5 separate regions of the Homo sapiens genome follow, and all the other regions are linked to region 1. The links are contacts of gene promoters, found by promoter capture Hi-C in blood cells and fetal thymus (Javierre and others, 2016). All regions are on one chromosome and are shown on one strand. The core of a region is centred on a gene start or on the middle of the fragment in contact, and the rest is flanking DNA. Distances in the headings are between cores, read along the strand shown. Region 1 holds the start of TTC32 (tetratricopeptide repeat domain 32). Region 2 overlaps LOC105373456 (a long non-coding RNA gene). Region 3 overlaps NT5C1B-RDH14 (NT5C1B-RDH14 readthrough). Region 4 overlaps LOC105373456 (a long non-coding RNA gene). Region 5 has its middle 10 kb from the start of RDH14.

Evidence for each region. Contacts are between HindIII fragments. The CHiCAGO score rates a contact against its expected background, and 5 or more counts as called.
Region 2: a contact is called between a fragment that was not itself captured here and the fragment with the promoter of TTC32 in region 1, in 1 of 17 cell types (activated CD4 T cells). The highest score is 6.3, in activated CD4 T cells.
Region 3: a contact is called between a fragment that was not itself captured here and the fragment with the promoter of TTC32 in region 1, in 15 of 17 cell types (naive CD8 T cells, total CD4 T cells, total B cells and 12 more). The highest score is 34.2, in naive CD8 T cells.
Region 4: a fragment that was not itself captured here is called in contact with the fragment with the promoter of TTC32 in region 1 in 3 of 17 cell types (naive CD8 T cells, non-activated CD4 T cells and total CD4 T cells); the score reaches 8.1 in naive CD8 T cells.
Region 5: a contact is called between a fragment that was not itself captured here and the fragment with the promoter of TTC32 in region 1, in 15 of 17 cell types (naive CD8 T cells, activated CD4 T cells, total CD8 T cells and 12 more). The highest score is 29.3, in naive CD8 T cells.

What each region holds. Positions count from the first base shown.
Region 1 is chr2:19,900,538-19,903,237 of GRCh38, forward strand. TTC32 (tetratricopeptide repeat domain 32) reads right to left here and starts at 1,446. Exons shown (of 3, transcript NM_001008237.3): 1 at 1,169-1,446. The coding sequence starts at 1,317. RefSeq lists enhancers at 407-1,288, 539-728, 869-928, 1,009-1,108, 1,289-2,169 and 1 more. The HindIII fragment of the contact is 3,134 bases long and covers 1-2,571 here.
Region 2 is chr2:18,607,186-18,609,885 of GRCh38, forward strand. The region is part of intron 2 of LOC105373456 (a long non-coding RNA gene); the gene reads left to right. Among named protein-coding and RNA genes, the nearest start is that of NT5C1B-RDH14, 19 kb to the left of the region's middle. The HindIII fragment of the contact is 2,919 bases long and covers 1-2,700 here.
Region 3 is chr2:18,567,125-18,569,824 of GRCh38, forward strand. The region is part of intron 9 of NT5C1B-RDH14 (NT5C1B-RDH14 readthrough); the gene reads right to left. All of the region lies in intron 8 of NT5C1B (5'-nucleotidase, cytosolic IB), which reads right to left. The region is part of intron 2 of LOC105373456 (a long non-coding RNA gene); the gene reads left to right. Among named protein-coding and RNA genes, the nearest start is that of RDH14, 7.8 kb to the left of the region's middle. The HindIII fragment of the contact is 3,270 bases long and covers 1-2,700 here.
Region 4 is chr2:18,589,544-18,592,243 of GRCh38, forward strand. All of the region lies in intron 2 of LOC105373456 (a long non-coding RNA gene), which reads left to right. It overlaps NT5C1B-RDH14 (NT5C1B-RDH14 readthrough), which reads right to left and starts at 26. Exons shown (of 11, transcript NM_001199104.2): 1 at 1-26. It overlaps NT5C1B (5'-nucleotidase, cytosolic IB), which reads right to left and starts at 26. Exons shown (of 9, transcript NM_033253.4): 1 at 1-26. The HindIII fragment of the contact is 777 bases long and covers 894-1,670 here.
Region 5 is chr2:18,549,222-18,551,921 of GRCh38, forward strand. No RefSeq gene overlaps it. Among named protein-coding and RNA genes, the nearest start is that of RDH14, 10 kb to the right of the region's middle. RefSeq lists an enhancer at 1,302-1,596. The HindIII fragment of the contact is 1,958 bases long and covers 443-2,400 here.

The DNA of each region.
Region 1 (2,700 bases), core at 196-2,695:
CTGTTCAACCAACCCCTCTGTTCTTTTCTCATCCTGATCCACTCCATACCATCAACAAGCCCAGTCGAGGCAAGACTTGGAGTAAAAACAAATGCTACACATCCAGGCACAAGCCGAAAAGATGCTTTGGGCAAGCAGACAGTAACAGGTGAAGCCGCTCACATCACAAAGAGAAAGTCAGCGAATCGTTATGTGCTTCCTGGTGAAAGTACACACACCCACCTAAAAAGTATTCTTGCCATGATATTGAATCTGAATTCAATTGGATCAAACCTCAAGGTTTAACCACCAATTCACAGCAATATGAGACAGATGACCACATTAAACGACAGAAGAGATTCAGTCAGCAAGTCCAAAACACGGAAATTCAAAGGACACAAGAATCGGTTTCCTCAACAAATAAAGAGGGGAAGGTGGAGAAGAGACTTAAAAAGACTTGATGTGTATCCTGACTTGAACTAACTGCGAAAAGGGAACCAAAGAACAAAACACCTTATTAGTCGATCAGAATGGTTCCAACACTGACGACTTGATATTAAGTAACTATGTGATGATGACATGGTGGTTCCTTCTGAAACATCCATGGATGAATACAATAGGTAAACTGATAATGCTTAAGCCAAGTGATAAACACCTAGACGTTCGTTATGCTCTCTTCCACATATTTAAACGTTTTTCACAAGTGAAAAACACCACCAAGAGCCTGCGCCGTGACACTGAGATGGGAGTCGCGGTACTGTGGCCCTACGCAGCCGTGACCCCTTCCCTTCCCAGGTCGCGGATTTCCCGCCAGCTAAAATCACGAGTGGAAAATTCCTATCTGTCCTAAGTCTCTGGGTGCGAATGAGGAACGTGGAAGGAGAGACGGCGGGGTGAGAGGCGGCGGCCCGCGCCCGAGGATCGCGCAGAGGGCTTGGTTCCCGGAAATCTCTCCGCACCGTCGCGGCAGCTGGCTCCTCACGGGTGGGCTTCTCCCCGCGTTCTCCGCCGCCCTCGTCCTAGGCCTCGCCTAGGCCTTTCTAGAAAGACGAACGTCCGCCCGCTCAGTCCTAGTGCTGGGTTATGACAAGCGCCGACCGTGAGCTCCAGAGGCAAAGATAGGAGCCCAAACAACCCCAACGTCGCCTCCACCCGGGGTCGCCGCGGCCCCAGGTCTCGCGATAGTTACCTCCCGGGACTCTCGTCGCTGGAGGCCGCGCAAGCGCACCGGCGAATGTAAGCGGAGTACAGTGCCTCGGCCTCCGCGTACTCTCCATTGTTGAAATGAGCCTGGGCGAGTGTTAGGGTTGCGTGGCTTTCTTGCCGCTGTCCTTCCATAGCAGCCAAGGCCTAGTTTTCGGTGTAGAATGGGGGTTGACCTCCGAGCGGTTAGAGGTGGCACCACAAAGCCACTTCCACACCCTGGAATCTACCTTGACAGCCAACCTTGGCGCTAGGTTTGTGCCTTATGGGGATCCGTCGTCTCGCGAGATAACGGTTCCGCTGCTGGCGGGGCGTTTGCAGTGGCCCTTGTGAACTATGTTTCTGCCGTTACCAGTGTTGGACCCGCCTTCCTCTTTTCCTAGAAAAGGCGCAGATGCGTGGTCGCAAACTGATTTCCAAGTCCGTTGTCTGATGCTGCGAGACACTATCCGTTTGTTACAGCGAATTGGGGGCCGATGACGCTGGAGGTGGAAGAAGCCGCGGTTCTGTTTCTTAATGGCGAATTAGCCTGCGGACGTCCTGTCATTCCCTTGCCTTTTAGCGTCCCAACTTAGCAAAACTCCGCGTTTAGGGTGTTCTGAGTAGGCTTTGTCTACCCTGAAACGCTTTGTGTCGACATTCCACCAGGTCTGTTCCACGGTCCAAACTTCTCTACCTTTTTTGACCCTCTAGAATTGTGTTACGATTAGTAGTATATTGTGTCGAGAGTCTGGGATCTTTGATGTTAGTTATATTCCCTGGCTGTTTATGCCAAAGGGAAATCCAAATAGTAATTTATTACGTACATTACGTATAATTCAAATTAAAATTTTGTAAGAACAGTTGCCAACCACGCTACCCTACATGCCTGCTGTGTATCTTCTCGGCGTCCCTCGATTCTGTTTTGCTTCCCAAAGTACTTGAGCCCTTTCCGTCATAAAAAGTAAAGATGAAAAATATATTTGGAGCATGATACTTACATGCGGAAGTCTTAACAGGACATAAATTGTGTGCTTTTGGCTGCTTTCATTAGATTTTTAATTTTTTCCTTTTACCACCACTGAAAAAAATACAAATACAGTGGATTAAGGTTAAATTAAAAAGCACTAGTAGAAATTAAAAGATTGCAAGACTACAAAAAAATAAACTGGCATTTCTGGTGTAAGCAAATGGACAGCTCAATAGAACAAAAGCCCAGAAACATACCTCAAATAGGCTGTATTTTGTAAAAGACATGTAACATATATGGGGAAAGGACAGATTATTCAAATGAGTGCTATTGGGAGGATTAGTTAACCATTTGGGGAAAAATACATTTAAGCATTTAAGCTCCCAATTGACATAATATTCATTCCAGGTGAATTAAAAGATTAAATAAATAAGATAAAAAGCTTTTTTTTTTCAGTTCCCATTTATTTTTGCCTCTTGGAGCAATGTCATCTTTTCAATATGAAAAAAACAAAACAAAAAACAAATCTGAAGTACAGGATAGAACAAAACCAAGTGTGTTGGGGGAAG
Region 2 (2,700 bases), core at 182-2,681, 1.3 Mb before region 1:
TCTCACTAATTCTTAATTCAGCTTGCTCTCCATCACTTATTCTCTTCCTCGTGTAGCAACCAGAGTGATCCTTGTAAAATATAAATGATGCTATGTCATTTCTCATCCCTCAGCCCTTCAATGAATGATCCTCATACTTGGAGTGAAAATGGGCTTGCCACCTTCTGCATAATCTGGCTACCTCCTGGATGCCACTCACCTCCTATTTTCCTTATTTCTCACTGCAAAGAATGTCTCTATCTAAAGATCTTGTTTCTGCTGGTTTCCTTTTGCTGGAAAGTCATATTCCTAGAGTCTCTTCAACTCTTTTCCATTTTATTCACTGTGCAGCCATACAGCTGGGTCTGCTCTCAGAGTGGGAGAGGATTTCTGGGCTCCCACATATTTCATTAGGATTGCTTTGGAAATGAGGGCGCTTAGATTCCCTGCTGCTCTTGTTTTATTTGGGACTGTGCAACAAGGATAGGGACAGGAAGAGGCCTGCAAAGGCAATTAACATGGAGCATATACAGCTAATTTTACAAGCCTGGCATCTCTTTAAGTGTCCTCCCTGGGAGTGTTTCCCTCTGAATTAGAAAGCTCTAGTCTTAGCTTGATGAACTGGTTTCTGGTAAATTCAGTTGTTCTAGCCCCTGCTGGAACTAGAGTGATGGATATTCAGAGCAGAGAATGTGGCTTTTAAAAATGACATCACGAATAGGGTTGCTAGATTGAGTAAATAAAAATACATGATAGCCAGTTAAATTTGGTACTTCAGATAAAAAATGGATAATTTCTTAGTACAAATATGTTCCAAATATTACATAGATCTTCTAAAAAATTGCAAAGGACACATTTATAATTTTAAAAATATTGATTATCTGAAATTCAAATGTGATTGGACATACTTTATTTTATCTGGCAACCCTAATCATGAATAATTAAAAGTTGATATTGCTGTGTTGTTCAAAGGCAATAATTTGATTACTAATTACGTTCACTGAAATCAATAGATATATTAGTTATTTGTCCTCTTTTTTAGGAGAATTGCATCAATAGAATAAAAATATGTATTTTATCTTTTATATTGTGGAAAAATGAGAATATTCATATAGACATAGATATTTGTTATCTATATGGTAATTTGCTATACATGTTTAGAACATTTGTTTTTATTTAATGCATGATTGAAGACTGATGCCTAAATATGAAATTCTTTATTTTATTAAACTAATATACATAATAAACATAGTAGATTGGGTAAGCTGGGGAATTTGATAAATAAAACTATTTCCTGATTATATAAATGATATATGTTTTTTATAGAACATTTAGAAAATACATAATAATATTTTAAAAATAAGCCTATAATGTTTTTTATCTGTTTTTTTTGTGGAAAAACTTTTAAAAATAGGTTGGGATTATGTCATAATGTAATTTTATTGCCTTTAGAAATTTATCATGACAACATGTATCCATTTTATTTCATTAAAAGCATTTATGAAACATTTTAATAAAGATATAATATTCTTTTTCCTTTTTGTTTTGTTTTGTATTTTCCTGTTCTAATGTTAAAATGAGGATATTGGTACATAATTGTTTGAATCACTGGGTATTTTCTTTGGATTTATTTCTGGAAGCGCAGTTACCTGATCGAAAGATCAAAGTATCTTTAAGACATGAGCTGCTTGTTGCCAGTCTTGTGGAAGCCTATGTACTCTATGCTTTATGTTTCCGTCTTCTGGCCACAGGGACCCCCCGCTAGTCTTTTTTGCCCTCCCTGCCTCTACTCACTTCTTCCCCTTGGGATAGATCTGACTTATCTGATGGATAAGATTGAAAGCAGGAAGTATGAGTTAATTCCTTCTAAATTCTGTTTCTTTCAGATCTAACTATCCATCAGAAGGCACTTTTGCCATGTGGTTAGCTTACCAGGGTAGACTCTGCCTGGCTGGGCATGCCTGCAGTTGTTCATTCTGCTAATGAGTATGTTGAAAATTGAAGACAATATTAAGGAGCTCATTGTGACTTCATTTAATTTATACCCTCCTATCTAGTGATTTTAAGTAATACATCTGATATCTGGTCTTTACCTTTCTGACATTCATGTTTAATTCTTAACTAGTTCCAAACTCAAATTATCTCAAGGTAAAACCGGCAATACAAGCTCACTGTCCAAGAATAGTTAGAAGGACTGGCATTTAGAAGACTAGCTAGAAGGACTGGCATTTAGAGACCAAATACCATGAGGAGAGTGAAATTTTGGGTACTGCCAGCATTGCCTTAAGGCATTACAGCTTTTGTTGTGTAGATCTTGCAGTCTTTGACCTTTCATCTTGGCAGTTTGGATGGTGTGTAATGAGGTTGTGCAGCTGGGATTGTTAATTAGCATGGGTCATACAAGTTTTGGTAAATATGAATTGTGTGGTCCTCTACGTCTTACTTTGATCTTATTTACAAAGGTATGGTTTGGGTGAGATGAAATTCCAGCTTGCTAGGAAAAGAGTCTCTCAGTTCCTGCTAAAGGTCATTTTAAAATCACTGTATAGGCTTTTAAAGTATTTTCTGATAAAAGCCTTTTTCCTCCTCTCTACAGGCGAATTTTTTAGTATGGACAGCAGGCCAAGAGTGAACACTTCAAAGATAGCTTTGGTCTGGGAGAAGTAGACAGCACCAGAAGACGAGTTTCATCAGCTCAATCCTGCAGAAGTCTAGAGACAA
Region 3 (2,700 bases), core at 19-2,518, 1.3 Mb before region 1:
CTAGATGCTGATGACAAAGACTGCAGGCAGTGGGGTGATAGAATAAAGCCATCCTTGATGGTACAGGTGTGGAGGAGGGGAGCAGCTGCCACTGGGGGCAAAGACTAAAACTCCCCCTAGTTGCTTATACCCTCAGGAACAAAGAGCCTAGACTGCTAGAAGAGCTTCAAACACTGTTATCCTCCAGGGCATGAGTAAAGATCCACTGTTACAGAAGAAAACATTCTAACTTTGGGAGAATAAGAGACTATCAAGGATTGGTACCATTAGATATTGGCTATCACTGGGGCATGGCAAGATCCAGGATGTTCATCCCTAAGCCCTAGGAAGATAGAAGAAATAGCTGGGAAGGGGTAAGAATGAGGAGACCTTCTCTGCAGCAGACACACAGGGAAGGCCTGCTGCTGAAAGTCGACTAGAAATCTTGAGAAAAACCCTCTGGTAAGCCAGTTTGCACCCTAAGAACAAAGTTGATACCAGACAAACTTGGATCCTGTGGTGCCATGAAGATAACCATAGCAACCACAAAACCTAAAACAACTTTAATACCTGATTTGATTGATTCAATCTATCACAATAATTGCTAGTCCCACAGTAAAACAGAACAAAACAAAATGAACAATCTACTTTTAGGAGAAATTAAAAGAACTAGACTTAGTAATGACCCAAGTGTCACAAATATAACAGAGGGAATTGAAAATAACTGTGATTAATATCTTTAAATGTCTACTTTAAAGGTGGATACCATACATGAGTAGACTAGCAATTTTGGCAAAGAGATTGAAATGAAAAGAGTTGAATGGAACTATATAAAGAGTGCCTAATGGATGTGTCAGTAGACTCAACACAGCTGAAGAAATAATGAGTGAACTTGAAGACAGGTCAATAGAAATTGCCCAAACTGAAAAGAGAAAGAGAAAAAAAGAGTGGGGAAAAAAGAGCAGAGCATTGAAATGCTGTGGGACACACACACACACACACACACACACACACACACACACTCCCCTCTCATATTCAAACCAAAGGAAATATAGACAATTATGAAGGCAGCCAGACAAAAACAGACACATTACATACTAAGGACCAAAGATACAAAATTCATAACATTTGTCATCAAAATCTATACAAATGAGAAGACAATGGAAGAGCATCTTTAAAGTGCTGGGAGAAACACACAGTAAACCCAGAATACTACATTCAGTAAAAATAAAATATTGTTTTAAAAACTAAATAAGATTAAAACTTTTTAGGCAAAGAAAAACAGAGATTCAGTACCAGTAGATTTGTACGACATGAAATGTTAAACAAAACAAAATAAAACAAAAGATCTCCTGGCAGAAGGAATATGATAACAGAGAAAAACCTGATCTACACAAAGAAAGGAAGATCTCTGAAAATGATTAAAAGGAATTTGAATATGAAATACATATTTTTGCCTCATCCTTATTTACTAGACGGTATTTAATTGCCAAAAACAGAAATAGTAGTGGAAAAGAAAAATAAATGTTGCAGTCCCCAGGTCACTAAGCTAAAGGGAAAAGTCAAGCCTGTAACAGCTTAGAGACAACCTGCCTCCCATTCTATTCAAAGTCACCCCTATGCTCACTGAGATAACTACATATCTGATTGCCTCCTTTGGAGAGGCTAATCAGAAACTCAAACCCGCTTGGAGTCTTCCTACCTTTGCTTCAAGCTGTCCTGCCTTTCCAGACCGAACCAATGTTCATGTTACATATGTTGATTAATATCTCATATCTCCCTTAAATGAATAAAACCAAACTGTGCTCTGACCACCTTGGGCACATGTCGTCAGATCCTCCTGAGGCTGTGCCATGCATGCGTATCCTCAACCTTGTCAAAATAAACTTTCTAAATTAACTGAGACCTGTTTCAGATTTTTGAGGTTCACAGTAGCAAAGTATAGAGAGTTTATAGAATAGATAAAATAATATATGACAACTGTAGCACAAAACATGAGAGGCAGAGTTTGGCAGTTCGTTGTTGCAAGGTTCTTACAGTACATATGATGTTGTAGAGTATAACATTGACAATAGACTGTGATTACTTAAAGTTGTATATTGTAAACACTAGCGTAACTAATAAAAAATTTTAAATGAGTCATAAGCCAATAGTGGAGATAAAATGGAACGTAAAAACACACAATAAGTCTGTAAGTAAATAGGGGAAAAAAGAAAAGAAAAAGGGGACTAAGAACAGTTGGAACACAGAAAAAACATAGGAAGATAGTAGATTTTAATCCAACCAAAGCAATGATCACATTAAATTTAAATGTCCTAAAAACAGCAATTAAAACACAGGGATTGCCAGATTGTATAAAATAGCAGCACCAACTGTAATATCTATAAGAAAAATAAGTTAAATATAAACACAATTTAAATATAAAGACATAGATAAAAGTATAGAAAAATCATATCATACAAACATTAGCCCCCCCAAAAAAGCTGGAGTGATTATATGAGTATCAGATGAATATTACATAATGAAAAGATATTAATTAAGATTAAGACAATATAATAATCCTAAATATGTAGGCACCTAAAAACAGAGATTCAAAATACATGATACAAAACTGATAAAATTGAAAGGATAAATAGATAAATTCTCAAATATATTTGGAGATTTCAACATTGCCTTCTCAATAGTACATAAAGCAAGTAGACAGAAAATTACTGACAATAT
Region 4 (2,700 bases), core at 32-2,531, 1.3 Mb before region 1:
GCTCAGTCTAGCTTTGCATTTAGAATGTCAAATTTATGACATCATATGTGATTCCATAGTAACAAACTGACTCTATGAATATGTGATTAACCTTTTCTTAAAAAACAAAAAATAAATGTTTCTTCATTTTGAGTGTATCTGCTCATAGCCATTGTCTTTGTTTTCAGAAATTGATGTCTAAACATTGTTCAAATGTTCAATATGTAGCAATATCAATATTACCACTTCCTTTTTAAATCTTTTTAAGCATTTCTCTGCCATTCATTATATTAATCCCATTTGTGACTGTCTGTTTCCTGGTACTGCCAAAATGAATGGCAAAGTCATTTGTGGATCCAATCATTTATCCATGTTCATTCTGCCAGACAGACTTTGGAGGGCTTTTCTCAGATCTAGAGACTATTTTTGACAGCTGGGATTTTGTTCCAGACATGGAGTTTAGACTTGAGTTTGAGTTTAGCTTTAATGTCTCATGTTTCTTTCAATGGCAAAACCTGTTGAGGAAGACACTGTCAAAGCCCCTTCCCCATGGCTAGACTCAGTGTAGAATGTTACCTTTGCTGCCCCATCCTTAACCCTTAACCCTGGGCTGCCCCATCCTTAACCCTTTAAACACTAAAGCTAAACTCAAACTCAAGTCTAAACTCCATGTCTAGAACAAAATCTCAGCTGTCAAAAATAGTTTCCAGATCTGAGGAAAGCCCCCCAAAGTCTGGGAGAGTGAACATGGATAAATGATTGGGTCCACAAATGAGTTTGTGATTCATTTTGGCAAGTAACAGGAAACATACAGTTACAAATAGAATTGATATTTGTAAAAAGTAGCCCCTAACTCTGGTTTACAGAATCTAAACATGTTCTCCATTTTAGTTTTCTCCTTTTATCTTCACCCAAGCTTTAGATAGGAGACATGTGCCATGCCAACCTGAGCTGGTGAAATCATCAAGGACTGAGGCAGGTTTCCAGCCTGTTTTCATGGGACAAGTTGATAGCTAAGGTTGAATATCGGAAGTTGTTGATGGTTTTAATTTAAGTTATCCAAGGAGTCTTTTAGTTAGTAAAACATTCAGGCTGTAGGTAAGAGTGCCTGGGTTTAAGTTATTTCATCTCTCCCCTACTCCCCACTGTACACCCAACCCCCAGCATTCTACCCAAAATTTGTACAGGGGTCATTTGTTTTTGCATGGTTATGATGTTATTGTGTAATATTTGTATAAGTTATGTAGACAATCAAAGTTGTAAGTGCTATACGTTTCAGAGTAACTTCAGAGAACCTTACCTTTTCTATTAAAATCACACCCCTAAGTACCAAGAGCATCTTTATTTTCTTAGTATGCTGTGTTTGGGGCCAGAGCAGCTAATGTGAATTTCATCTCATTGTAATTAGGTGTTTTATTTCTACTATTCAGGATTATAAACTCATTATGGCTTCTTAGCACTCCTTCGAGGGAGAGAGCAGAGGCTTCTGTTATAGGTTTCATGGGTAGGACTTCACTTAGGGAAGCCTGACATCCCAAATCTAGGGCTGTGGGCTGGAGTCCCTTCCTCCACAGTCTGGAAGCCTAGGCAAAAGCATGAACTGACCTGAGTCAGAGGTTTATGTGACTCACAGTTCTGCAGACTATACAGGAAGCATAGTGCTGGCATGTGCTTCTGGCGAGGCCTCAGGAAGCTTCCCAATCATGACAGAAGGCAAAGAAGGAGCAAATGTGTAACACGACAAGAGCAGGAGCAAGAGAGAAGGGAGGAGGTCCCAGATTCTTTTGAACAGTCAGATATCCTCGTAACTCATTACCATGGGAAGGCACAAAGCCATCCATTAGGGATTGACCTTCATGACCCAAACACCTCACACTAGGCCTCACCTCCAACATTGGGAGTCATCTTTTAACATAAGATTTGGAAGGGACAAATATCCAAGCCATGTAATGGGTTAAGCATGTTCTTGTCGCAAGACTTTTAAATTTGCTGCTCCATCTGCTGCAGCGGCCCATATATACACGTGCCTTAATTCCTTATTTTTTTAACTCTGCTCTCAAGCAGTCTCCTCAGAGAGGACTTCTCTGACTGTCACTAAAAATGATACCTCATTTCCTTCATCTTTTAACCCTTATGTCCCTTTATTTTCAATCATAACATTTATTTCAACCTGACTTTGTTTCACAAGAGTTTATTTGCTTATTGTCTTTTCTGGTCCCGCTGGAGCGAAAACTGCTTGTGAGAAGCGACCTATACATCTTTTCTACTGCTGCTTTCTTCTTGCCTAGAATAGTTACTAGGAGGTACTTCCATAAATATTTGTTGAATAAATACATGAATCTTTTAAGAAATGCGTTTACTTAACAGTGATAAGCAGGATACAGAATATTATGGTAACAGTAGTGGTGGAATTTTTTTTTTTTTTTGAGACAGAGTCTTGCTCTGTCACTCAGGCTGGAGTGCAATGGCAAGATCTCAGCTCACTGCAACCTCCACTTCCCAGGTTTAAGCGATTCTCCTGCCTCAGCCTCCCAAGTAGCTGGGATTTCAGGCATGTACCACCATGCCTGGCTAATTTTTGTATTTCTGATAGAGATGGGGTTTCACCATGTTGGTCAGGCTGGTCTCTAACTTCTGACCTCAGGTGATCCACCCGCCTTGGCCTTCCAAAGTACTGGGATTACAGGCATGAGCCACCGCACCCGGCCATGGTGGAAATTT
Region 5 (2,700 bases), core at 172-2,671, 1.4 Mb before region 1:
CACTCAAATCTCATCTTGAATTGTAGCTTCCACAATTCCCATGTGTTGTGGGAGGGACCCGTGGGAGGTAATTGAATCATGTGGATGGGTCTTTCCTGTGCTGTTCTCATGGTAGTGAATAAGTCTCAAGAGATCTGGTGGGTTTATAAGGGGAAACCTCTTTTGCTTGTCTCTCATTTTCTCTCTTCCCTGCAGCCATGTAAGATATGCCTTTCACCTTCTGCTATGATTGTTAGGCCTCCCCAGCCACGTGGAACTGTGAGTCCATTAAACTTCTTTTTCTTTATAAATTGCCCAGCCTTGGGTACGTCTTTATCAGCAGCATGAAAATGGACTAATACACTAAGCAACGGATTTTTAATGCAGACAAAATAGCTTTCCATTGGAAGAAGATGCGATCTGAGGCTTTTATAGCTAGAGAGAAGTCAATGCATGGAAACAAAGCTTCAAAGGACAGTCTGACTCTCTTGTTTGGGGCTAATGCAGCTGGTGACTTTAAGTTGAAGTCAATGCACATTTACCATACTAAAAATTCTAGGGCCTGTAAGAATTATGTTTAATCTACTCTGCCTATGTGCTATAAGGGGAACAACAAGGTCTGGATGACAGCACATCTGTTTACAGCATGGTTTACTGAAATTTTAAGTCCACTGTTAAGACCTATTGCTTAGAAAAGATGCCTTTCAAAATATTACTGCTCATTGACAATGCACATAGTCACCCAAGAACTCTGATGGAGATGTATAAAACGATTAATGTTTTCATGTCTGCTGATACATCTAGTCTGCAGCCCATGGATTAAGGAGTAATTTTGACTTTAAAGTCTTATTATTTAAGAAATAACATTTCCTAGGGCTAAAGCTGCCACAGTTATTCCTCCGATGGATCTGGGCAAAATAAATTGACAATCTTCTGCGAAAGTATTAACCATTCTAGATGCCATTAAGAACATTCATAATTCAAAGGAGAAGGTCAAAATATCAACATTAACAGAAATTTGAAAAAATCTGAGTCCAACCCTCATGGATGACTTTGAGGGTTCAAACCTTCTTTGGAGGAAGTAAACACAGATGAGGTAAAAATCACAAGATAATTGGAAGTGGAGCCTAAAGATGTGAGTGAACTGCTGCAATCTCATGATAAAACTTAAAGACATAAGGAATTGTTTCTTAGGGATGAACAAAGAAAGTGGGTTTCTGGAGATGGACTCTACTCCTGGTGAAGAGGTTGTGAACATTTCTGAAATGAAAGCAAAGGATTTGGAATATTACATAAACTTAGTTGAGAAGGCAGCAATAGGGTTTGATAGGATTGACTTCAATTTTGAAGGAAGTTCTACTGTGGGTAAATACCACCACATGCTACAGATAAATATTTCATGGAAGGAACAGTCTTATCAATTTGGCAACCTGCATTGTTGTTGTATTTTCAGACATTGCTCCAGCCAACCCAGCCTTCAGCAACCACCACCCTGAAGTCAGCAGCCATCGAGGTGAGACCCTCCACCAGAAAAAATATAATGACTCACTGATGGCTCAGATAATTGTTAGAGGTTTTTGAGCAAAAAACGTATTTTTAAATTAAGGTATGTACATTGTTTTTTAGACATAATGGTCTTATACACCTAATAGACAACAGTATAGTATAAACATAACTTTTACACGCATGGAGAAACAAAAAAGTTTGTGTAACTCACTTTAATATTTGCTTTATTGTGGTGATCTGGAACAAAATCAGAAGTATCTCTGTGGTATTCCTGTATTCACTTAAATAGTAGAGTCGGATTTCTAGCTTTTTTGCCCTTAAAATGGACTCAAAGTTTAAAGTTACTTGCAAAGCACTAACTACAGACTCCTTTTATAATTTTGTATTTATTTTTAGTATTTGATAGTTGCTTTGAAACTTTAGTCAACAGTAAATTTTTAGTGACTTGCTTTCATTTAGTTTTTACAAAACTACTTTTCTACTTTTCATATAAATTCTTTGTACTCACATTTCATTGACTTGCAGTATGATTAATAATTTGTAATGTGATTATTAACCAGCACAGTTGACATATGCATGCACAAATTGGGTTGGGTTTTCTTTGTTGCCTCCTGCATGCCCAGAACTAGAATAATGCCCGGTTACATAATAGGTACTCAATAAATATTTGCTAAGTGAATAACAAATGGTACACAACTCACTCTTAAGTATATAATAGAACAAGAGGAAGCAGAAGGGCTGTTGTGTGCTAGAAGAAAGCCTATCAGCCTAGAGTTTCACATGCTATGTGCATTAGTTTTTTTTTTTTTTTTTAGAAAAAAAGAATGGAGAATCAGTTATTACAGCAAATCTCTTAGATGGTAGTTGCTTAAAAGTGCTTCCACTGCACTTTGATTACACATCTGGCTTAGCAAAAGCTTTTCCTTACTGTCTGCATAAAACTAAGCATTCCGTCTTAGTTTCCTCTAGGAATAAACTACCTTTCTCCATGTTAGCCTGTAACTAATTTAACTCCCCATCGCCCAGAGAAGGCTTGTGGAACATCTGAACCTGTCTGTGGGGGCCAAGCTCCTGAAGGGTGATTAGTAACATGTTCTCTCTTCAGTGTTCCATAGGACATTTGGAATCAATTAAATATTCAAATACAGAGTCCCTCAGATCTCTGGCCAGGCCCAGCAAGTTTGTCAGGGGGAGGGAGTTGAAGGCAGATAACTG